3 separate regions of the Homo sapiens genome follow, and regions 2 and 3 are each linked to region 1. The links are contacts of gene promoters, found by promoter capture Hi-C in human tissues and cell types (Jung and others, 2019). All regions are on one chromosome and are shown on one strand. The core of a region is centred on a gene start or on the middle of the fragment in contact, and the rest is flanking DNA. Distances in the headings are between cores, read along the strand shown.

What was found. Contacts are between HindIII fragments. The study calls those that stand out against the background at their distance.
Region 2: a contact is called between a fragment that was not itself captured here and the fragment with the promoter of SCRIB in region 1, in 1 of the 25 tissues and cell types used here (lymphoblastoid cells).
Region 3: a contact is called between a fragment that was not itself captured here and the fragment with the promoter of SCRIB in region 1, in 1 of the 25 tissues and cell types used here (lymphoblastoid cells).

The regions. Positions count from the first base shown.
Region 1 is chr8:143,813,408-143,817,561 of GRCh38, forward strand. SCRIB (scribble planar cell polarity protein) reads right to left here and starts at 2,366. Exons shown (of 37, transcript NM_182706.5): 1 at 1,807-2,366; 2 at 594-711; 3 at 411-489; 4 at 230-319; 5 at 63-119. The coding sequence starts at 1,965. PUF60 (poly(U) binding splicing factor 60) reads right to left here. Exons shown (of 12, transcript NM_078480.3): 10 at 3,924-4,059; 11 at 3,503-3,738; 12 at 2,937-3,412. The coding sequence ends at 3,113. RefSeq lists enhancers at 744-1,408, 1,693-2,325, 2,326-2,958. The HindIII fragment of the contact is 41,605 bases long and covers 1-4,154 here.
Region 2 is chr8:143,391,401-143,395,554 of GRCh38, forward strand. No RefSeq gene overlaps it. Among named protein-coding and RNA genes, the nearest start is that of MAFA-AS1, 15 kb to the right of the region's middle. The HindIII fragment of the contact is 4,614 bases long and covers 1-4,154 here.
Region 3 is chr8:143,442,615-143,446,768 of GRCh38, forward strand. All of the region lies in intron 9 of ZC3H3 (zinc finger CCCH-type containing 3), which reads right to left. Among named protein-coding and RNA genes, the nearest start is that of MAFA, 14 kb to the left of the region's middle. The HindIII fragment of the contact is 7,185 bases long and covers 1-4,154 here.

The DNA of each region.
Region 1 (4,154 bases), core at 1,116-3,615:
CAGCCCTGGTCCCTGGGCTGTGGCCCTGCCCTGGCTGTTAGGAGAATGCCTGTCACACTCACGCTGGCAGGGACTTGAGCAGGTTCTCCCGGAGCTCCAGGGTCACCAGGTTGGCGAGGCTGAAAGAGAGACCAGGCGCTGGGGCAAGAGGAAGGAAAGCAGTGGCAGCAGGGGCAGGGCCAATCCTGGTCCCCCACCCCACCCTAGTTCCACCTGAGAAGGCACTCACTTGCCCACGTCCCCGGGCAGTGCCTGCAGAGACACATCATTCAGGGCCAGGTGAGCCAGGCTGCGCAGCTGAGTGAAGCCATCAGGGAGCCTGGATGGGAGGAAGCAGAGGCCCTCGGATGACCAGTCCAGGGCTGTGGGACCCATAGCCCCTACCGACCCCACCACAGGCTGCCACCCACCTGGAGAGGGGGTTCCCGCTGAAGTCCGCGATCTCCAGAGCCTTGCAGAACTTGATGCTCTCCGGGATCTCAGGGATATCTGTCACAGAGGGTCACAGTGGACAGATGCCATGGCCTGCAGGCCGTCTGCAGCCCCAGCGGACACTCCCCAGACCCCACCCAGCCCCTGCCCAGGCTCCCCACCGTTCCGGGACACGTCCAGCTCCACCAGCTGCATGAAGTTGGCCACCTCGGGAGGCAACCGCTGGATCTCGTTGTCGCTCAGGCCCAGCTTGCGCAAGTTCAGCAGCCGGAAAAAAGGCTGTGGGCAGGGAGGACACGGACTCTGTGGCAGAGACCACTGCAGAGCAGAGAAGAGCTCCTGGACACGTGAGTGTCACAAGTCAAGAGTCCCTAGGCCTCTGTCTGCTCCAGGTCACACCGGGTCCTGGGGTCTAACCACGACACCCCATTTGCAAAAAAAGGAAAGAAACACACGGTACACACGCCCACTGTGGCTGCCTCCCTCTACTCTTCACACCAGCCTCCACTCTGAGAAGACACCTGCTGGCGACCAGACAAAGCCCCAATCCCCTACCCTGTGTCTTACCTCAGGGCCCACCCAGCCCCTGAACCACTTCTGCCACCCTCCAGGGGCCCACACTGGCCTCTGCTACTGCATCCTGACAACAAGCCTGGCCTGGTTCTGCAGCAAGAACTCAGTAAACGCTCCCCACAATAACACAGTACCACAGGCACAGTGCTACGCGCGAGGCCTGCAGGTGGCCACAGAGGACCGAGCTGTCACTGCCACGGCCAGAACAGGGTCACATTCTTTGGGACACCCAACCCCTAGGTACTGATCACCCAGCACCCCATCTCCAGAAAAGAAATACTTTTTAATCTGCTTTCTCCAGCCTCCTTTCTTGTAGCAGCCTTAGGAGAGCACCTGACCACGAGAAGCAAGGGTAAAGAAAGGGGGACAGCGAACAGATCCGAGAGCAAAGAGTACATCAAGAGGGCTCCCCCACTCACCCCTGCACCCAGCAAAAAAGGAGAGGAGGTCTGGACCCACCTCCAGAGCGGCCCAAGAAGCTAGTACTCATCAGCCACCTGAATCCAAGTTCCACCCTAACCCCATCCACCTCCCTGAATCCCCACGGGTTTCACTCTGAGGCTCCGCCTCCAGGCTCGGTGACAATCGCTATCCCCAGGCAAGCACCTGATGACCGCTGCCACCTGCGCCAGCCAGGGCGGCTGGAAGAGAAGGGTGGGGCTGGCTGGGGTGGGGACCTGGCCAGTGCAAACCAGCAGGGCCGGCTGGAGGCTGCGGTGACTCGCCCGGGCAGATTCTGCCGCCGGAGGAATCACGGGCTGGGGGCGCGCCTTTGGGCGGCAGGTGCGGGCGGCCGCTCACCTTGGGCAGCTCGCGCAGCTGGTTGGCGTCGAGCAGCAGCTCCTCCAGGCTGCGGCTGTAGCGGTAGATCTCCTCCGGCACGGCCTGCAGCGAACAGTGCCGCTTGTCCACCGACTCCACGTGCCGGTTGCAGCGCCACAGCGGGATGCACTTGAGCATGGTGCGGGTGGGCGGCGCGGGCTCCGGCGGCGGCGCTCGGCGGGCTCGGGGCCGGGGGGCGGGGCTCAGTCCGCATGGGCGCCGCGCATGGGGAGGGGGCGCAGGCAGGGGGCGGGCCGCCCGAGACTGGACGGGGACGCGGCCGCGGCCGGCGCTGGGCCCGGCCCGCGCTCGGAACGCTCGGACTGCGGGCCTGGGCAGGGGGCGCGGCCCGGCGGGTCTCAGACTCTTAGGAAGCGCGGGGAGCGGCGGCGGCGGCGGCTCCGCATCCCGCTTGGTCCTGCTCAGCTCGTCCCGCCCGCTCGTCCGCCCGCTGTGCCGCACCGGAACCGCCGCTGCCCGCCGGACTGCCCCGCCGACACCCACCCGGCCGCCGCGCAGCCCGTCGGGAAGCCGAGTCCGGCCCTCGCCGCCTAGCACGCCCGGACTGCGGCCCCCAGAAGGCCCCGCGCGCCGCCGCCTCTGAGGACCCGTAGCGGCACCGCGCAAAGCGTGCCGGGAAGCCGGGCCCGCCCCGCGCGCGGGATATTGGGAGCTACAATCCACGAGAGGCGGCGCCCTCCGCCCTCCGGTCTTCAGCCCGGCCCCTGGCCCCGCGGCATTTGGCCACGAATCTTAACGCACAGCCTCCTCCCGGGAAGCGACCATGCCCGCCCGCCCGCCTTGGACGGCCGGCTCTGCGGCACAAAAGCACTGGCAGCGCGCGCTGTCCAGCGGGTCGCGGTGTCCCGGTGCCCAGCCTTCTCTCAGCACCACCCTGCGGGGACGGCTGCGAGCCCGCGCGCGAGAGCCTGGCGCCCCAGGCAGCCCCGCCCACCCAGCCGCCGCCACCCGCGGGACGGGGCCCGGGGCGCCAACCCCCTGCCCAGGTCTCGCCCACGGCAGGCCCCTCCTGCCAACAGGAAGCAGGTCCAGAGACCCCCCCAACCCTGCCTCCTCGCCCTAGACCCCCTAAGGACACACGCCCAGGATCGGTGACAGGACCGACGGCAGACACACGGACGTTCAGGGCCAGCAGCATCCGCACCTTTATCCGCACTGTAGGCTGGGCTGGGCAGAGCGCGCCTGGCCCCGGGGACACCACTGTATCACTATAAAACCCAGAGGAAACAAGGAACAAGTGCAAGTCCGGGGAGAGGGACCACTGTCACGCAGAGAGGTCACTGTTATCAAAACGCTCCTGGTCGTACACTTCAGCCACCACCTTGCGGCCAGCAAACCAGCGGCCATTGAGGGCCTGGATGGCCTTATGAGTCTCAGAGGCTATGGAAAACTCCACAAAGATCTTGACAATGATTTCTGCATCCTCCTCCTCGCCTTGTTTCTCTTGGTAGATGATGACGCGGTTCACGGCCCCGAACTTGCCACACTCCTCTGTCACCTCCCCTTCCAGGTCATCATCGATGTCCTTGGGGTCCACCATGTTGCGCAGAACCATCACTGTAGACTGTGGGGCAGGGCCGAGGGGAAGACAGCTGAGCACTGCGGCCCCGCCCCCCTACCCTCTCCCCCGCCACCACCCTGCCCCTCTGCCTACCTCCTGCTTGCGGAGCAGCTTCTGCATCACCATGTGTCGGGCGCTACTGCCCGAGATGCTCATGTGCTCCTGCTCGCTCAGCATCTCTGGCCGCTCTGACTCGGGAAACAGCTCCTCTTCTTCCTTCTCCTTCTTGGGCTCCAGGAGACCCAGCGTTGGAGGGCTGGCCAGGATGGGGTTCACCACTCCCACCGAGGGGATGGTGACCGGGATAGGAGGACGGGCTGGGGTCACACCTGCAGGAAAACCAACCAGGTCCATCAGTCACTCCCTACCACCCCCCTTCCCAGAAAGGCACAGAGCTGGCCTGCCCTGGGCTCAGAGGGTTGTGCCCAGACCACCAGGGCCAGGCAGCTGAGGGCAGCGAGCCGAGAGATGCCAGGACAGGAGAGGAGAGGATCTGGTACCACTTAAGACTCACCTGTGATGACTCCAGGTGCCTGGGCAGCCATGACAGCCTGGGGCAAAGTGCCCAGGGGCTGGGCCAGGGTCAGTGCTGGGGACACCAGTCCAGGTGTGCCCAGGGTACCCAGCACCGCTGCTCCGGCCACTGCTTCCTGCAACCCAAAAGGTCACCGTGCTCAGTCCCTGGTCTGGCTACTCAAGACCACCTTGAATCAGTCTCCAAGGAATCAGGGGCCAGCCCGCCCAC
Region 2 (4,154 bases), core at 866-3,365, 420 kb before region 1:
CTGAGATCTCTGTGTGCCCAACATGGAACAGGCGAGGCACTGGGAATCTAGATGGATTTTTTATTAAATTGACAAAAGTCTCTCTTGCCCTGGTCTCTCCTGGAATCTCACCTTAAAACTCTCCCTGGGGCCCTGACAGCTGCCTCCATCAGTGGCCCCCTCCCTCTGATCCCTCACAGAGAGGCAGGGCCAGCAGCTCTCTTGTCCCCACCTCCCTGAAGGGCTCTCCATGGGGCAGGGCAGGACTCCCAGGGAAACCACCCATCACCTTGTAGTCCAGGGGCCCTCAGGCCACGTGCATCTGGCAGCTCCCCTCACCTGTGCCCCTCTCCCCGGCCCCCTTGCCTCACCCTCCTCCAGCCAAGGCCACAGTGGCACGTGGCCCACCTGCCTGTGCCCCACCTGGCCCCATGTATAGGCCCTGCGCACCCGGACTGCACTTTCCAGTAGGTTTATCCTCCCTCTGGAGCTCCCAATCCCCTTCTTATCGCATGCATCCATCCACCCATCCGTCCATCCACCCATCCGTCCACCCACTCATCCACCCATCCATCCACCCACCCACCCATCCATCCATCCATCCATCCATCCACTCATCCATCCATCCATCCATCCATCCATCCACTCATCCATCCATCCATCCATCCACCCATCAATCCATCCATCCATCCATCCACCCATCCATCCAACCATCCATCTATCCGTCCATCCACCACCCATCCACCCACCCATTCATCCATCCATCTACCCATCCACCCATCCATCTATCCACCCATCCGTCCATCCACCCATCAATCCATCCATCCATCCACCCATCCATCCGACCATCCATCTATCCATCCATCCACCTGCCCATGCACCCACCCATCCATCAACTCACCCATCCATCCACCCACCCATTCATCCACCCATCCACCCATCCATCCATCCACACATCCATCCATCCACTTGTCCATCTGTCCATCCACCCATCCATCAACCCATCCATCCATCATCCAACCATCTATCCATCCATCCACCCACCCATCCATTCATCCACCTATCCATCCACTCATCCACCCATCCATCCACTCATCCACCCATCCATCCATCCATCCATCCATTCACCAAAGGGTCCCTGAGGTTCTCCTGGGATTCCTGCCCTACTGCAAACTGGCCGCCCAGGAGTGTCTCAGTCCTGGCTCTCACAGGCCTTCTGCCCCGACCCTCACTGGCTTGGCCTGGGGCCTGCATGGGCAGCAGCCCATACAAAGCCTAGCAGCCAGAGCCAGGGAGGGACAATACCAGGGCTGGGAGGAGGGGATATTCAGGGTGCTCCCACCTGCGTTGAGTTGGGGAGCCACAGCCCAGAAGGGAGTGCCTTTGCCCAAGGGCACAAGCATGAGGGGCGGTGGGCAGCGCCAGCCCCCAATCTGCAGCACCCCAGCCGGTGTGCAGCTGTCTCCGGGGCTCCAGCACTCAGCTCACTCAGCCCTGCTGGAGCCAGCCTGGCCACCACTATTGTCTCATGGATCAAATCCCAATTCATTAGTGGTGGATTGGTGGGGTGGGTGTGGTGGCCCAAGGACCTGTCTGCGGTTTTCTGGGTTGCCTGGCTCCGGGGTCCCAGAGGCTCCCAGTGCCCACCAAGCACACCTGCTTCCCATGGTCGATCTGGTGGATGACATGCACCAGCCATGAATTGCTCAGGCTGGCAGGGCCACCCCAAGGTGACCTCTGAGGGGTGCCCAGGGCTGGCATAGGGCCCTTGTCACAAGCAGCCACATTCCTGACTTCCCAGCCCCTCCCTGCCGGTGGGACACACCCCCTCCTGCTGGTCTCTGTCTTTGTCCTGGAATCTTCATCCTTCCCCAGTGTGTCTGTCTGCAGGTCTCATGTGGGTATCTGGGGTCCCTGCTCCCTCCTTCTCTCTGGGTCTGTGTCTGCCTTCTCCCCACCGCCCCACAGCCTCTGAGCGGCCTCCTCCCTCTCTGTTGCTGGGGACCCTCCCCTCAGGGTCTCCCTTGGGGCTGTCTCTTCTCACACCTGGGAGGATCTGGGATGCCCAGGGCTGGGCAGCCAGTAAAGCCCGGCCCTCAGGGCCAGCAGGCACCTGGGAAGGGGCTGTAGCTGCCCCTGGGTGCAGAGGTCACGGAGCCTCCCACCCTTCGGCCTGGGGCCAAGGTGGAGCTCACGGGCCAGGGATTGGGTCCCCCTGCCCATCCTGGGCAGGGCTGAGTGCCACTCACAGCAGGGGGGGCCAGGCCTCAGCTCTGTCCACTGCCCTAGGGCAGCATTGGAGTCCCCTCAGGCCTCTGGGTCCATGGAGCAGTGCCTGGTGGGGGTTGGGGTGGGAGGAGGTGCTTCTCCAGATCAGTGCTCACTCCGTGGCCTCTGCTGGGTGGACACCCCCACCCCCAGGCCCAGCCAGGCCCTCATCTGTCTGATCAATGTCCGGGCACATCTGATGCCGGAGCGGATCTGCTGACCCAGACCTGGCCTGCCCCCTGCCGCCCCCACCTCATCAATAGCAGATCATCCGGCCTGGTGCCGTCCTCAGCCCCCTGGGGAGCTGGGGCAGGAACAGTGGCCTGGCCCTGGAGCCATAGTAGGGCGCCGTCCTGAGAGACAGGTCGGGCAGCCAGCTGGTGGCACATGGCTTCAACGCTCAGCCCATCTCCCCAGTGGGTTCTTAGGCCCAGCAGGGCAGCCCCGCAAGCCTCACTCCTGGGACTTTAGTACAGACATGTGGGCCGCTGACCCTCAACAGGATTCTGAGATGGGGCCAGCCGGGCCCCTGCAGGAACTCCTGGGTACATCACTCTCAGGTGGAATTGCTAACAGGCAGGGCTGACCCAGAGCGTGTGGGGCTGTGGGGCCAGGGGGCTGTGGGGCGGGTGGGCCCCCATCACGGGGTGTCCACGGGGAGGCCCAGTGGCCCTGCCCGGTTAGAGGGCCCATGGCTCACTGTCCCCAGGACGAGGGCTCAGAGCTCCTCACCAGGCCTGCCCGGCCACCTCCATTATTGCCCTTAGGAGCCCTGGCTGGGCAGTTCACATGAGGCACAGAGGCCAGGGACACAGATGGGACAGAGAAGAGATTAATCCACCTGGGGTCAAGGCCTGGCCCACGAAGCATGGCAGCCAGCGGGTGCTGCCCTGGTGAGGGTGGACATGGGCCACCCAGCCTCTCCAGGCCCATCCAGGGCAAAGAGTGTCTGTTCCTCCCAGGTGAAGGCTGTGGCCAGGACAGTGGAGCAGCCGGTCAGGGGCAGCTTCCCCGGGAAAGGCCCTGGGGGGCTTGCAAGTAAGGGAAGAAATCCAGGCCCCTCCCCTAGCAGGATCCTAGCAGTGAGCACTTCTGGGCTGGGGCCCTGCCTCCCACCCCTGCAGAGTCCCCTCCGCCAGGGTTCCCTTCCTCTCTGTGTGCACAGCTGACCTCATTTCCTGACAGTGGCGATCCCAGCAACTCCAGAGTAGATGAGGGAGTGGGACAAAGTGTGAGAGCTGGGGTTCACATCTGCTTGGGTTTCCCTTGTGTGTGTTTGTAATGGACACATGAGTTCTCCTGAACAGGGAAAGCCTTTTTTTTTTTTTTTTTTTTAGCAAGGTCTCGCTCTGTCACCCAGGCTGGAGTGCAGTGGCACAATCATGGCTCGCCGAAGCCTCTACCTCCTGGACTCAAGTGATCCTCCCGCCTCAGCCTCCCAAGCATCTGGGACCACAGGTGCATGCCACCACACCCAGCTAGCTTTTTTTATTTTTTGTTGAGACAAGGTCTGGTTATGTTGGCCAGTCTGGTCTTGAACTCCTGGGCTCAAGTGATCCTTCTGCCTCAGACTCCTAAAGTGCTGGGATTACAGGCATGAGCCACTGTGCCTGGCTAATTTTAAAAATTTTTTTTAACTTTTTTTTTTTTGAGACGCAGTTTTGCTCGTCGCCCAGGCTGGAGTGCAAAGGCAGATCTCGGCTCACTGCAACCTCTGCCTCCCAGGTTTAAGTGATTCTTCTGCCTCAGCCTCCCAAGTAGCTGAGATCATGTGCCACCACTCCTGGCTAATTTTGTATTTTTAGTAGAGATGGAGTTTCACCATGTTGGCCGGGCTGGTCTCTAACTCCTGACCTCAAGTGATCCGCCCGCCTCAGCCTCCCAAAATGCTGGGGTTATAGGTGTGA
Region 3 (4,154 bases), core at 856-3,355, 370 kb before region 1:
AGCAACGGCTGGTGGGCAACACTGGATGCAGAGTGCCCGGCTGAGATGTCCAGAGGGCACCTGCCACACAGCCAGTGTGAGCTGAGGTGTGGGTGTTGGTGTAAACCATGTGCCAGGACTCAGACTTAGTAGGAGCAAAATAATGTAAAATGCACATTTCTTTTTCCTTGATGACATGTTGAAATTTTTGATAGGATGGGTTAAATAAAACATGATTCCATCTGCTTTGGTGTATAATCTTTTTTAACCTTTTAAAGGTGGCTACTAGAAAAGCTGAAATTCACAAATGACTCATCCATGTCTGTACTGGACAGCGCCGATGAGAACCCTCCTGCAGAACACAACCAAATCCCGAGGATCAAAGAGAACTTTCTGAGGCCCTGCACAGTGGCTCACGCCGGTAATTCCAGCACTTTGGGAGCAAAAGCGGGTGGATCACTTGAGGTCAGGAATTCGAGAGCAGGCCTGACCAACATGGTGAAACGGTCTCTCCTAAACCGTCTCTACTAAAAACACAAAAATTAGCTGGGTGTGGTGGCACGCACCTGTAATCCAAGCTACTTGGGAGGCTGAGGCAGAAGAATCGCTTGAACCTGGGTGGTGGAGGTTGCAGTGAGCCAAGATTGCACCACTGCACTCCAGCCTGGGCAACAGAGTGAGACCCTGTCTCAAAAAAAAAAAAAAAAAAAAAAAGAACTTTTTGAAATTACTTAGGAGCGATGAAGAAAGTAAAATGATGGAAGAAAATATACAAGGAAACACACTGGACATGAAATGAATCTTAAATTTCAAAGGCCTGAGACCTTCATCTCATGTTCACTAATGAAAAACCCAAACCAGCCAAACAAAACCCCCAGAAAACTCTCCAAAGATCTGGAAATGTATCACCATCTGTGGAACAGCGAAAACAGGGCTTAAAGGAAAATACATAGCCTTAAATGCTTATATCACAACAGAAGACCTAGCTTAAAAGTTAGGGGGAGAACAGCAAATGAACTCAAAGCAGAGGGAAAGAAAAACAAAATAGGAATTAAAACCAAGAGAGTTAAAAGTTGGTTCTTTTAAAACAGTAATCAATTTATCCAATAGGGTTAATCAGGAAATAAAGAGAAGGAAGATGTAAACAATGTTGGGAACGCTAAGCGTGTAACTAAAGATGCTGCAGATGATGAAAGACACCGCACGCTGTGGTAACAAACGTCATGCCAGTATGTTTGAAAACACCAGTGAATTGACAAATTCTAGAAAAACTGACAAGAAAAATAAATCCAAGTATTTCTATAACCATGAAGAAATTGGAATCAGCAGTTAAAAAGCAAAGCTCCAACCCAAAGGGTTTTACTTGTAGTTCTTTTTTTCCTTTTTTTTTTTTTTTTCTGAGACAGAGTCTTGCTCTGTTGCCCAGGCTGGAGTGCAGTGGCACGATCTCGGCTCACTGCAACCTCTGCCTCCTGGGTTCACACCATTCTCCTGCCTCAGCCTCCCGAGTAGCTGGGACTACAGGTGCCCGCCACCATGCCTGGCTACTTTTTTGTATTTTTAGTAGAGATGGGGTTTCACCTTGTTAGCCAGGATGGTCTTGTTCTCCTGACCTTGTGATCCACCCACCTCAGCCTCCCAAAGTGCTGGGATTACAGGTGTGAGCCACCGCACCTGGCCTTTACTTGTGGTTCTACCAAATACTCCAGATGTACAATTCCAGTCTTCCATGAACAAGTCCACTGTATAGAAAAACACAGAACACTACTCAGCTTATGGGGCCAGAATAATCTTGAAACCAAATCTGACCAGGACTATATGAGAAAAAAACATTTAGGCCAATATCACTCATGAAAAGAATGCAAAAAGTCCTACACAAATTATAAACGAGAGTCTTGCAATGTGTAAAAACACTAATATATCAAGGACCAAGTTAGATTTATCTCAGGAATGCAAGGTTGGTTTAATATTAGAAAATCAATGAACAAAAATTAGCACATTAACAGGTTAAAAGAGAAGAATCATATGATCACCTCACAGATATGAAATAAGTATTTAATAAAATTCAACAGTTTTTTAAAAAGAAACATTTAGCAAATTAGTGATTGAAGGTAACTTCCTCAGCCTGAAATACAGGGTTTCGTAAAAGATAACTCCCAGAAAGCATCACATGTCAAGGGGAAAGTTTGGAAGCCCACTATCATCACCAGTCAATATTGTATTGGGGTCCTATCCAAGGCAGGAAGACAAGAAAAAGAAAGAAAACTTGTCTGGACTCAAAAGAAGAAAAAAAGTCATTATTTGCAAATGACATAATTGTTTATACAGAAAAATGCAAGAGAATTTATAAACTAATTACTAATATAGTTCAGCAAAGTTGCTGGAGATAAAATCTATATAAAATTATATTTCTATACGCCAATGAACAGTGAGATAATACAAATTTTAAATATACTATTTATAGTAATAAAACTATTAGGAATAAATCTAACAAAACCTAATCAAGGGCTGGGCACAGTGGCTCATGCCTGTAATCCCAACACTTTGGGAAGCCAAGGCAGGCGGATCACCTTAAGTCGGTGGTTGGAGACCAGCCTGACCAAAATGGAGAAACCCTGTCTCTACTAAAAATACAAAATTAGCTGGGCATAGTGGCACATGCCTGTAATCCCAGCTACTCAGGAGATTGAGGCAGGAGAATTGCTTGAACCTGGGAGGTGGAGGCTGCAGTGAGCCCAGACTGCACCATTGTAGTCCAGCCTGGGCAACAACAGTGAAACTTTGTCTTAAGAAAAAAAAAAAAAAAGATAATAAAGAACCTTATTAAAACACATTAAAGGTAGGAGGCCAGGGCGGGAGGGTGGGAGGATTGCTTGAGACCAGGAGTTCGAAATCAGCCTGGGCAACACAGCAAGACCCTGTTTCTACAAAAGATTAAAAAAAAACAAAATTAGCCAGGTGTCATAGCATGTGCCTATAATCCCTGCTGCTTGAGAGGCTGAGGCAGGAGGATTACGTGAGCCCAGGAGTTGGAGGCTGCAGTGACCTATCATCACAACACTGCACTCCAGCCTGGGTGACACAGTGACACCCTGTCTCTGTCTCTTAAAAAAAAAAAAAGACATTAAAAGGGAGGGTCTAACTGAAGAAATACAGATGCCATCCCCACAGGCTGGCAGCTCACTGCTCTGGGGACAGATGCCCATTCCACCAAACCGAGCTACAGATTCAAGACAATCCCAATCAAAATTCCAACTTTTTTTTAACCTGACAAGAAAAATCTAAAATGTATTTCTGGGAGAATAATGGTCAAGAATAGCTGAAATTCGTTCTAAAAAAGAACAAGGTGAAAGAACTTGCTTTATTATTATGAAGCTCAAATAATTCAGAGCATGGTTTGGCTCAGGGACAAACTGACCAATGAACAAACAGAGAGCCAGAAGCAGAGCCCGCATCCACGCAGACCTCACGACAGGAGGGAGGGCTGCACCGCACACCCGCTGGAAACAATGGGCTTTTCGAGGCCAGGCGCTGTGGCAAAATGAAACTGGACCTCACCGCACACACCACACAAGAAAATCACCTCCAGCTGGATGAAAGTCTCAATGTGAAAGGTAAACACAACAAAATATTTAGAGGCAACTGAGCACAATCTGGTGTAGAGAAGAATTTCTTATTCAAGACACTAAGGGTGCAAAATGTAAAGAAAACTATAAAACTATGTCCGTTAAAATCAAGAACTTCTGATTTTCAACACGTCACAAAGAAATGCAAAGATAAACCACAAACAGAGAAGACATGTGACTAACAGATTAAAGTCCAGGACATTATATGTATTTTTATGTTTGTTTATGTTTATAAATTCCCTCTGAGTCAGTAAGAATCAAACAACCCAAAAGAAAAACACCCTCACCCTCACCAAAAAGATTCCAAAAATCACCAAAAAGATTTTCCAGAAGCGAAGACACAAAGGCCTTAGAAACATGGGAAAAGGTTTTCCACCTCAGTTTACATCAGAGAAATACCAATTTAAAATATCAGACAGCTTTTAATCCTTCTAATGGTCAAAAAGTAAAAAAAGGTTGAACACAGCCTTCACAGAAAGCACAGAGGCCCGTCCAAGCTGCCGAGCGTGACAGGCCAGGTGGCCTGGGTGGGCTCATGTTTCCAGCTAA